Linked DNA regions of Homo sapiens: all the other regions are linked to region 3. Evidence: promoter capture Hi-C in human tissues and cell types (Jung and others, 2019). All regions are on one chromosome and are shown on one strand. The core of a region is centred on a gene start or on the middle of the fragment in contact, and the rest is flanking DNA. Distances in the headings are between cores, read along the strand shown. Region 1 overlaps FNDC3A (fibronectin type III domain containing 3A). Region 2 overlaps CDADC1 (cytidine and dCMP deaminase domain containing 1). Region 3 holds the start of MLNR (motilin receptor).

The links. The method cuts DNA at HindIII sites, captures the fragments that hold promoters and counts their contacts. A contact is called where the count stands out against the background at its distance.
Region 1: a contact is called between a fragment that was not itself captured here and the fragment with the promoter of MLNR in region 3, in 1 of the 25 tissues and cell types used here (mesendoderm cells).
Region 2: a fragment that was not itself captured here is called in contact with the fragment with the promoter of MLNR in region 3 in 2 of the 25 tissues and cell types used here (heart right ventricle and mesendoderm cells).

Annotation. Positions count from the first base shown.
Region 1 is chr13:49,184,033-49,187,061 of GRCh38, reverse strand. It overlaps FNDC3A (fibronectin type III domain containing 3A), which reads right to left. Exons shown (of 26, transcript NM_001079673.2): 15 at 960-1,098. Among named protein-coding and RNA genes, the nearest start is that of MLNR, 35 kb to the left of the region's middle. The HindIII fragment of the contact is 3,540 bases long and covers 1-3,029 here.
Region 2 is chr13:49,254,943-49,258,032 of GRCh38, reverse strand. CDADC1 (cytidine and dCMP deaminase domain containing 1) reads right to left here. Exons shown (of 10, transcript NM_030911.4): 3 at 2,120-2,194. Among named protein-coding and RNA genes, the nearest start is that of CDADC1, 8.6 kb to the right of the region's middle. The HindIII fragment of the contact is 3,632 bases long and covers 1-3,090 here.
Region 3 is chr13:49,218,307-49,221,646 of GRCh38, reverse strand. MLNR (motilin receptor) reads right to left here and starts at 1,309. Exons shown (of 2, transcript NM_001507.1): 1 at 409-1,309. The coding sequence starts at 1,309. RefSeq lists silencers at 1,277-1,356, 1,427-1,686, 1,623-1,879. The HindIII fragment of the contact is 10,157 bases long and covers 1-3,340 here.

The sequences.
Region 1 (3,029 bases), core at 50-2,549, 35 kb after region 3:
AAACCTAATAAACAGAATACCAAACTAGGTTTAAAAAAAAAAAATCACCTGCAATGACTTAATACCAGTACCCAATTACTCCATGCTGTTGTCATCTGCTTTTCACTTAATTTACCATATTTAAAATATGGCTCTCTATAACAATTTTTAATGGCTGCATGATATTCCATTTACTTATTTTTATTTATTTTTTTTAGATGGAGTCTCACTCTGTTGCCCAGGCTGGAATGCAATGGTACAATCTCGACTCACTGCAACCTCTGCCTCCTGGGTTCAAGCGATTCTCCTGCTTCAGCCTCCTGAGTAGCTGGGACTACAGGCATGTGCCACCATGCCCAGCTAATTTTTGTAGTTTTAGTAGAGACGGGGTTTCACCATGTTGGCCAGGCTGGTCTCGAACTCCTGACCTCATGTGATCTGCCCGCCTGGGCCTCCCAAAGTGTTGGGATTACAGGCGTAAGCCACCATGCCCAGCCTCCATTTACTTTAGATGTTAAGGTTGTTTGAAATTTTTGAATATTATAAATATCACTGAAGCATTTTTATTGGTCTGAATTTTTCAGGCAAGGGTCAAGTTTATGGGATCTTTGTTTTTCCATTAGGTATGTAGGTAGGTGCTCGATAAATGTTTGTTTTAAATGAATGGTTTTCATTTCTTACGAGAGCCAGATGACCCAGGTGACTTTAGCTGCAAGTTCAGTAATCCTTCATTTCACAGTGCTACCCCTGCTCATTATCTTACAGTGGATCGCAAGTTCCTTTTTATCATATCTTAACCTAGCATGTATGAGAGTATAAGGTTTTCCACAAAAAACATACCCAATGAATGACTCTCACATTTCTTTTTGGACTGGCTTGAGATAACAAATTTACTCAAATATCTTAAAAATTATCTTCATATTCAAATTATTTTAATCAAACGCAAAAGTAATAATGTATAAACATGCATAATATCTTACCCCAGGTTATTTTAAAACTGTGTGAATGTATCTTTCCTTTCACTGAAGGCTTTACAGGTATGCCTGGTTTATCAGGGCAAGTAGTAAATTCTACTACTTCACTTGGATTACTTTTACCTTCTGAGTTGTAAGCAATAACCTGTGATGAGAACAGAAAGACATTAAATAATACACTTGATACCTAATGATACTGGCTTAATAAACAAAGTGATAGGAGACAAACAGCTTCAACCAAATGATAAAATACATTTTTTTTAGCTTGGAATGGCTTGTTCTTTGAGAATTGCTTGTCTCCAATAGATACTTGGCATATATGAAGAGTATGCAACTGTACTTCCCCTTTTAGAGTCCGTCCTGGGAATACAAGTGTAAAACCTAATATTTTGATACTAAATAAGAATCAGAGGAACAAGCTATAATCTGGTGATTCTTCATGGGCTTTAGGCTTGCTTTGTTTCTTCTTTTAACATTCTTTGTGAGTTTAGAAAGAGGTCCACACATTCTCTGAATCTCCTTTCTTCAAAAGGTGAAGTCTAATCCCCCTTCCCTTGTGTGTGTGTTATACTTAATGACTCACTCTAACAAACAGAATACAGCAGAAATGACGGTGTGTGTAACTTCCCTATGGAAAAACTCATGTGGTGAGGAACTGAGGGTTCCTGGAGACAACCATGTGAGTGAACCTGAAAGTGAGTGAAGTCCCAGGAGAGCCTTGAGATGACTGCAACCCCAGTTGACATCTTGATTACAACCTCATAGAGACCCTGCATCAGAATTACCCAGTTAAGCTGGTTCTCAATTCCTGACCCACAGAAACTATAAGTTTGTTTTTTCAAGCTGCTAAATTTTGGGATAATTTGTTATAAAGCAATAGAGAAATATAATTCCAATCTAGGTATTTTTCTATTATAGAAATTTAACTATACCTGTATTGTTACATTTTCTCCTCTACTGAACTTAAAGATCCTCAAGTCCAATATCAAACCATGATTTTTTCTTCTCTAAACCTGCCCCTCTTTTTCTCTCCCCACAGTAAAAAGCTCTACCATCTACCTAGTTGCTCAAGTCAAAAGTGTTAGAGACAAACTGCCCCAAAAAATCTTGGTACTGCTGACGCTCCCCTCAAACCTCTCCATGCTGCCCACCCCCCTCCCCCTTATGCTCTGCAACTCTTCTCTGTGCTGCCCACCTTTCCCTCTGAGCCCCTTTACATTTCTAAGCCCTTATCTAGGTGCCACAATGAAGCCAGCAGACTTCACCTATCAGGCCTTGCTGTGATAAGCAAATCCCAATTACAGGCCATTGGGACCGCACAGGGGGAGGTCGTGGGAAGCACAAACAAGCTTTACCTACACCTACCTGTAAGTTCCTTCATTTAGCTGCTACCACAAATGTCACAAGGTGATATATGATAAAGTTAACCAACAAACGACCCCAGGGTCTCTCTCCCCAATATAAACCCCTCATTTTATAAGCTCAGGGCTTCCTCCTCTGTCTGTAGTGGAGCAGCCGGCAGGTTCAATAAACTTACTCGGCTGACTTTGGGTCTATTCTTCCTCTCGGTTGACCTTACAAAAAGGAGACATCCTTGATTCTTCTCTAAACCGCATCCAATCTCTTACTATATCTGGTTAACTTTACCTCCACTTCACTGTTCTACAACTACGACCACTTTAATGAAAGCCTCCTTTCTCCTATCTTTCCTGAGTGACTGTAATTATACCACTAGCTAGTTTCCCAGTGTACATTCTTGCCCTTGACCCCCAACTACTTTCTACACCGAAGCCAGAGGGACTTTTTATCACTGCTTAGCTCAGAACCCTCTAATGGCTTCCCATCTTACTCAAAATAAAATCTAAATTCCACACCATGCCTACAAGGCCCTATGTGATTTCATCCTTAACTACCTCTTGAAACTCCACTGTAGGGTCTTTGTGCTAGCAGTTATTTCCTCACTTGGAATGTTTTTCTGATTTTGACATGTTACTTCCTTGTTACTCAGATCTGTTTAAATGTCATTTCCAAGAAGACTTCCTTAACTACCCAGTCATTCTCTCTTACCCCATTCTA
Region 2 (3,090 bases), core at 124-2,623, 36 kb before region 3:
TCTCTGCTTTACAAAATATGTACCTAAGGATGTATATAAAATATGAAAAACCTATCTATATTGGCTTTTAAAATAAGCTTTAAATTGACCTTGAATTTGTGAACACTTTCCCCTCCCTACCAAAATTTCTTGAGTTTTATGCTCCTCAAATGCGAAGCATATATTATTATTGATTTCTGAATACTTTCAATAAGTTTGTTTATTTATTTATTTGAGACAGAGTCTCACTCTGTCGCCCAGGCTGGACTGATTGATTGATTGATTGATTGATTTGAGACAGTCTCACTCTGTCGCCCAGGCTGGAGTGCAGTGGCACTATCTCGGCTCACTGCAAGCTCCGCCTCCCGGGTTCATGCCATTCTCCTGCCTCAGCCCGTGGAGTAGCTGAGTAGCTGCCACCACGCCCGGCTAATTTTTTGCATTTTTAGTAGAGATGGGGTTTCACCATGTTAGCCAGGATGGTCTCGATCTCTGGATCTCGTGATCCGCCCGCCTCGGCCTCCCAAAGTGCTGGGATTACAGGCGTGAGCCACCGTGCCCGGCCAATACGTATCATCTTGGAAAAGAAGTAATGCTGCCTCATCAAAAGATCTTGACAGAGCTCCTATTGTTAAATTGAACCAACGTAACCAGTGGAAGTGGCTGCAAGGGAATGATTTCAGCTTTAGATTTTCCTAGTTAAACAGACAGAAATAAAGCCAGAATAAAACATAAAAAAAAAAATTGTTCCTATCAAGTGAGAAGCACACTCATCAACTTATTTGTTATTAGAACAATCTTTTGGGTCGAGTTTATTTATCACTTTTTTGTCTAGAGTCCTTTTTACCTCAGAAAATATGTATTTTTTCATTTTGCATCTAGGTAAGGCCAAAATACCAAGTTTGAGACAAAGATTTTTCCATCCCAAACTCAATAAAACAAATAAAAGCTCAAGTTGCATTCCATTTTGGCACTTCCATTTACCACAACTCCCAGAGGACTGAATCTTTTCAGTGAATCGCTGCTCTGAATTTGATTTTGCCTCACTTCGCTAACATTTTGGCAAGTCATCTGTTTGATCCTAGTCACAGAGTTTTACACTAAAACATGGGCAAAAGGGTACAGTCTGTTTTGTATATGGACTAGTACATTGACTTAAATGGTGATTCACTATTTTTTTTCCCTTGGCCTTTCTTATTATGAAAACATGTAAATATTCTGAGACAAATTATTTCTATATTCCTACTGGGCTCACTCTCAGAATGAATTAGGAAATCTCTAGGAATATACATCGGAATCATCAAGGTAACTCTTCAAAACATACATGCTTAGTCTCCACTCTGCATCCAATGAATCGGAACCTCTGGAAAACTCAAAGGAATAAAGTAACAAGGAAATACTATACAATATTAAAAAGAACAAGGTTCATCTTTCAAGTCTGCACTTTGATTTTACCCTACTTACCAACTAATAAGTTAACCTGTTACTGTTTCATGGATATTAGCAGAAAACATGAAACTTCTGGGTTAGAAACAATGAACTTTATTATTTGCAGCACAGCAGTCAGTATGAGCATCATTTCTGTTTCCTGCCCTCAAGCCCCATGAGGGGTAATACAAATGGGCACAGATGGCTGCCTGGACACAGGGTGGGTAGTGTTATAGGAGAGGAACACTGAGCTTGAGGGTCCTACTGTTTCACAGCAGAAAGTAAGCCAGATTGCTTTTTGTCCTGGAGGGAGATATTACCTCAACCTTCAGGGTTGATCACTGCAAACACAACTCTGAGAAATGACCCAGGTAAAAAATGGTTAGGGCCTTGCATTCTTGGCATACCCAGCAAGGTGTGTGGGAGTGTGAGAGAACTAAGGGAGAGTATTTCTTAACACATCTATATGAACCATCAAGAGTTTTTTTTTTTTTAAAGCAAGATGTAGGATGTAGCATAGAATAATCCCATCTGTACTTTTTTTTTTAAAAAAAAGGAGTGACATATAGTCTTGTAAATATACAGACCATTTTTAGAAGAGTATTTTAAAAACTCCCTTGATAGTAGAAATGGAGGCACTTTTATTCTACTTTATACTATTCCTTTTGCTTTGTTATTATGAGCATATATATGTGAAATCATAAAAATTTACCTGTCTTTTGTCAGTAGATACTCTGGTCCTCTCTTCATTATCTCCTAAGGGTCCATGCTTTCCCTCTTCATTTTTCTAATAAAAATCAGATTAAGGAAAAAAAAAGATTAGCACATAAGACATATGACTAATTCAATATTCCCATATTTAAAGGCTGGCTTCCTTGGCTTTGACCATTTTTTTTTCCATGATGAAACTCTACATTGACTTCCCACTTTGTTTGGATCAAGTTCATACTACTTTACCTAGTAAATAAACCTTTATAATCTATCCCCTATGTACTTTCCCAAAACATAGAAGGATTGGAAATTGTAATGAGAAAATAAAATTCTGAAGTTTATGGTTTCAGAATTGTGGCAGTTTTGAGTAATGGAAAAGTCCAAAGTGTGGCCATGAATGACTAAAGTGGAATAGAGGTAAATTAACTGGAATTGAGAAGATAAGGAACTATGTAGCAAAGGTATTAGATCGGGATTGTGGTAGGCAGGATAATGCCCCGCCAGAGATTTCCTTGTCCCAGTCACTGGAGCCTGTGACTATGTTTTGTTACATGGCAAGGAGGAATCAGTTTGCAGCTGGAACTGAGGCACTAACCACCTACCTTGACATAGGGAGATTATCCTTGATTATCTGATTGGCCCGATGTTATCACAAGGGTCATTATGAGTAAAAGAGGGGTGTGGGAGAGTCAGCGATGCAACATGAAAGACCTGACTGGCCATTGCTGGCTTTGAAGATGGAAGGGGCCCATGAGCCAAGGAAAACAGACAATCTCCACAGGTAGAAAAGGCAAGGAAAGGTCCTCCCGTAGAGTGTCTGAAGGGAATTTGGCTCTGCCAACACTTTGATTTTAGCCCAGTAAGGCTCATTTCAGACCTCTTACCTACAGAACTGTATAATAAATTTGTGTTGTTTTAAGCCACCAACTTTGTGGTCATCTGTTATAGCAGCAATAGAAAACGAATACAGGT
Region 3 (3,340 bases), core at 60-2,559:
CACTTAACATTAAATAAAAAATTTTAGCTTAATGAAATCTCCCTCGTCTTCTCAAGAGCACTGTGAGGACTCCTCATCTGTGGCATCTAACAGGTGGTTGGATTAAGAATTACCAACTCTCCTTTCTGGTCTCAGAGGCTCTGGAAAAGCACTGCTGGTTACTGAATCGGATCCGGGGATCCCACCCTCAAAGCGCCCTGGGGTCCCCCAGAGCTCCTGGGGGACAGGACATGGTTTTCTCGGGGGATGGGAAGTACCGGCGGGTGGAGGCTGGAATCGAAATAGGAAAGGGAGCTGGAAGCGGCGCCCAGAGCTGGGCGAGCAGGGGAAGGGGACCCAGCGTTTGCGCGGTCCCCGGCGGGGCGGACTGCAGGCAGGCGTCTTTGGAACCACGGCGGCTCCACTTACGCAGGACGCGGACGGTCTGCCGGTGGCCTCTCTCCCGCCCCGAGGCGGCCGGGCCTCGCAGCGGCCGCCGGCTGCTCCACAGCTCCCGCCCGATGAGCCCGTAGAGGATGCTGAGGCACAGAAAGGGCAGGAAGAAGTAGGCGGTGGTGACCCACAGCATGACACGCAGCGCGCCCAGCTGCGCGGGGCTCGGCCGGCATTCGCGGCTGAACAGCGCCGCGGCCTCCGCGGTCTCGGGCCCCGACGGCGGGGACGGCGGTGGCGCCCGCGAGAGCCAGAGAGGCGGCGACGAGGCGAGAGGCGAGGAGGCGATCCGCGCGGTGCCATTGAGGCCCGGGACTACGGAGATGCCGGGGTCCTGCTCGACGCCCACCAGGAACAAGAAGGGACCGGCAGAGAGCAGCGCCACGGCCCAGAGCACAGCGATGAGCGCGCGGACGCGGCGCCGGGTGACCAAGACGCGGGCGCGGAGCGGGCGGCAGATGGCCAGGTAGCGCTCGACGCTGAGCGCGGTCATGTGCAGCAGCGTGGCGTAGGTGCAGCCCTCGCCCACGTAGAGGGACAGGCGGCAGAGCAGCGGCCCGAACACCCAGGGCCGCGAGCGCCAGAGGCGGTACAGGTCGAACGGCAGCCCGAGCAGGATGAGTAGGTCGGACACGGCCATGCTGCCCAGGTACAAGTTGGTGGTGGTCCGCATGTCCCGGTAGCGCCCGATCAGCATCACGGTCACCACGTTGCCGCTCACCCCGACGACGAACAGGCACAGGCACACAGCGGTCACCGGCACCAGCGCCCCCAGGGGAAAGGGCGAGCAGCGGCGCTCGTCGCAAGGCGGCAGCGCGGGCCACGGCGGCTCCCGCGCCCCCTCGGGGCCGTCGCTGCCGTTCCAGGGGCTGCCCATGGGTGCTCCGCGCGGCCGCCGCGTCCCGGGTCGGGCTGGGAGCCTGGCGCGTGGTCCCTCTCGGTGAGCGCCTCCTTTCCCAGCCCGCACGCTGCGGGCGCGGCAGGTCAGACGGCGGAGCGCTGCGCTGCGCTGCGGGGCGCGAGAAGCGGCTCTGCGGGGTGGGCTCCGAGGCGCTCCCGAGCTAGCTGCGCGCAGTCTCCGCCCACGGCCGCGGCCCGCCCCGGCCCGGCCCTGCTCCGCTCCCGCGCCCTCTCCCGGGCCCATGCAGTTCCAGGGCGCTTCCCTCTCCACTAACTGGAATACCCGGCGCCCTTAGCGCACGAGCCCTACCCGGTCCGGTGAGCGATGTCTGCACCCTAGACAGCTTTGGTTACAGGACTGAGCACTGTACGGGCGCTTTTGTCAGTCTGGTACTCCGGGCACCTTCGAAGGGATCTGGTCTGGTGGCTGGTAGCTGCCGCTTGACGGTGGAGGAGGGCTCATGGTAATCCTCAGGAAGCCATAATGCTAAATAATAGGAGGGGAGTCTAGACCAGAATCTAGAGCCTCTCCTGTCTAATCCTGGCTCTACAACCGAGTAACTTGTGTAATCTTGGGCTAGTCCTGGTCTCGCCCAGCCCAGTTCTCCTCTTCTGTAAATTCGCGAGTGGTGGAGGGAGCTGACCATATAATTGACCAAATAATTTCTTTTTTTTCTTTTTTTCTTTCTTTCTTTCTTTTTTTCTTCTTGAGACAGGGTCTCACTGTCGTCCAGGCTGGAGTTTAAGTGGCGCGATCACAGCTCACTGCAGCCTCGACCTCCCAGGCTCAAGCAGTCCTCCCACCTCAGCCTCCTGAGTAGCTGGGAGCACAGGAGCGCCCAAGCCCCGGCTAAATTTTGTGTTTTTTGTGTAGTCAGGGTTTCGCCATGTTGGCCAGCCTGGTCTCGAACTCCTGACCCCAGGTGGTCCACCCGCCTCGACCTCCCAAAGTGCTGGGATTACAGGCGTGAGCCACCGCGCCCGGCAGTGACCAGATAATTTCAAGGATCCGTGAGCATGTTTACTTATTATAAAGAACAAGACAAATATTTACGTGGACACTAGAGTACTTTCACATGTGATATGTCATTCTTATGTACAACATGTTTTATAAACTTAAAAAACTAGAGGATTTGTCAACACCGGAAAGAACGAAAATTGGGGAAAGGGGCTAAAACGGATGTTCAGTCTGTTCGGTGTGGTCTTAATAACAATAGCTAACACTTACTGAGAATTTAGATGGATCTGGCCCTGTGCTCTCCATTTAATCCTCATGGCCCGGGGCGCTCCTTTCGCCCATGAACAAAGCGGTCTTGCTTGAGATCAAGCAGGCAGTAAGAGGCGGGACTGGGATATGGGCTCTGGTCGGCCTAATCCCAGAGCTTGCAAGCCTGACGTCCTACTCACTGCCCAGCTCCACCCCCTCAGTGGCTTAAATCCTCAACCTCTTCTCTGGAGTCTCGATTCTGGACCTGACACCTGGCTTTGCCTAGGGCAAGCTTCTCCTGCAGTTCTCTCTCACATGCAGACTGTGAGCTTGGAGGAGGGACACCTGTCGCCTCCCTCATCGCTGCTGTTTCCAGCGGTCCTAAAACCGCCCTCCCTAGCGCTTTCCTCCGTGGTCACCCGTAGTCCCTGAGGGACAGGTGCCTGCGCTCTCTTTGAAGCACTGCATCTGCGGCCGTTCACACCCATGCCGAGTCTTGGAATGCCTTGGCCTCTAGTTTGTTGACCTCCTTTCCACCTATGACCTTGCTCTCCACCCGATCTCAGCCGCGCCTGTCGACGGAACTTACACCTCACGGTTGCCTGCCAGCCTTCCTCCACCTCCACTTCAGTCAGCCCTCTTTCTGACCTCCGCCCGCTCTCTTTTTAGCTCTCTTCCCCTAGCACCTCAGTTCCGGTAATCCTTCAACCCACTGCGACCTCCATCGCTGGCTCCTCCTTCCTTTTCCCGGTCCCTTGCCTGCCCCAGGTCTTCACTTTCTTCCTTTACCCAACGTAAATT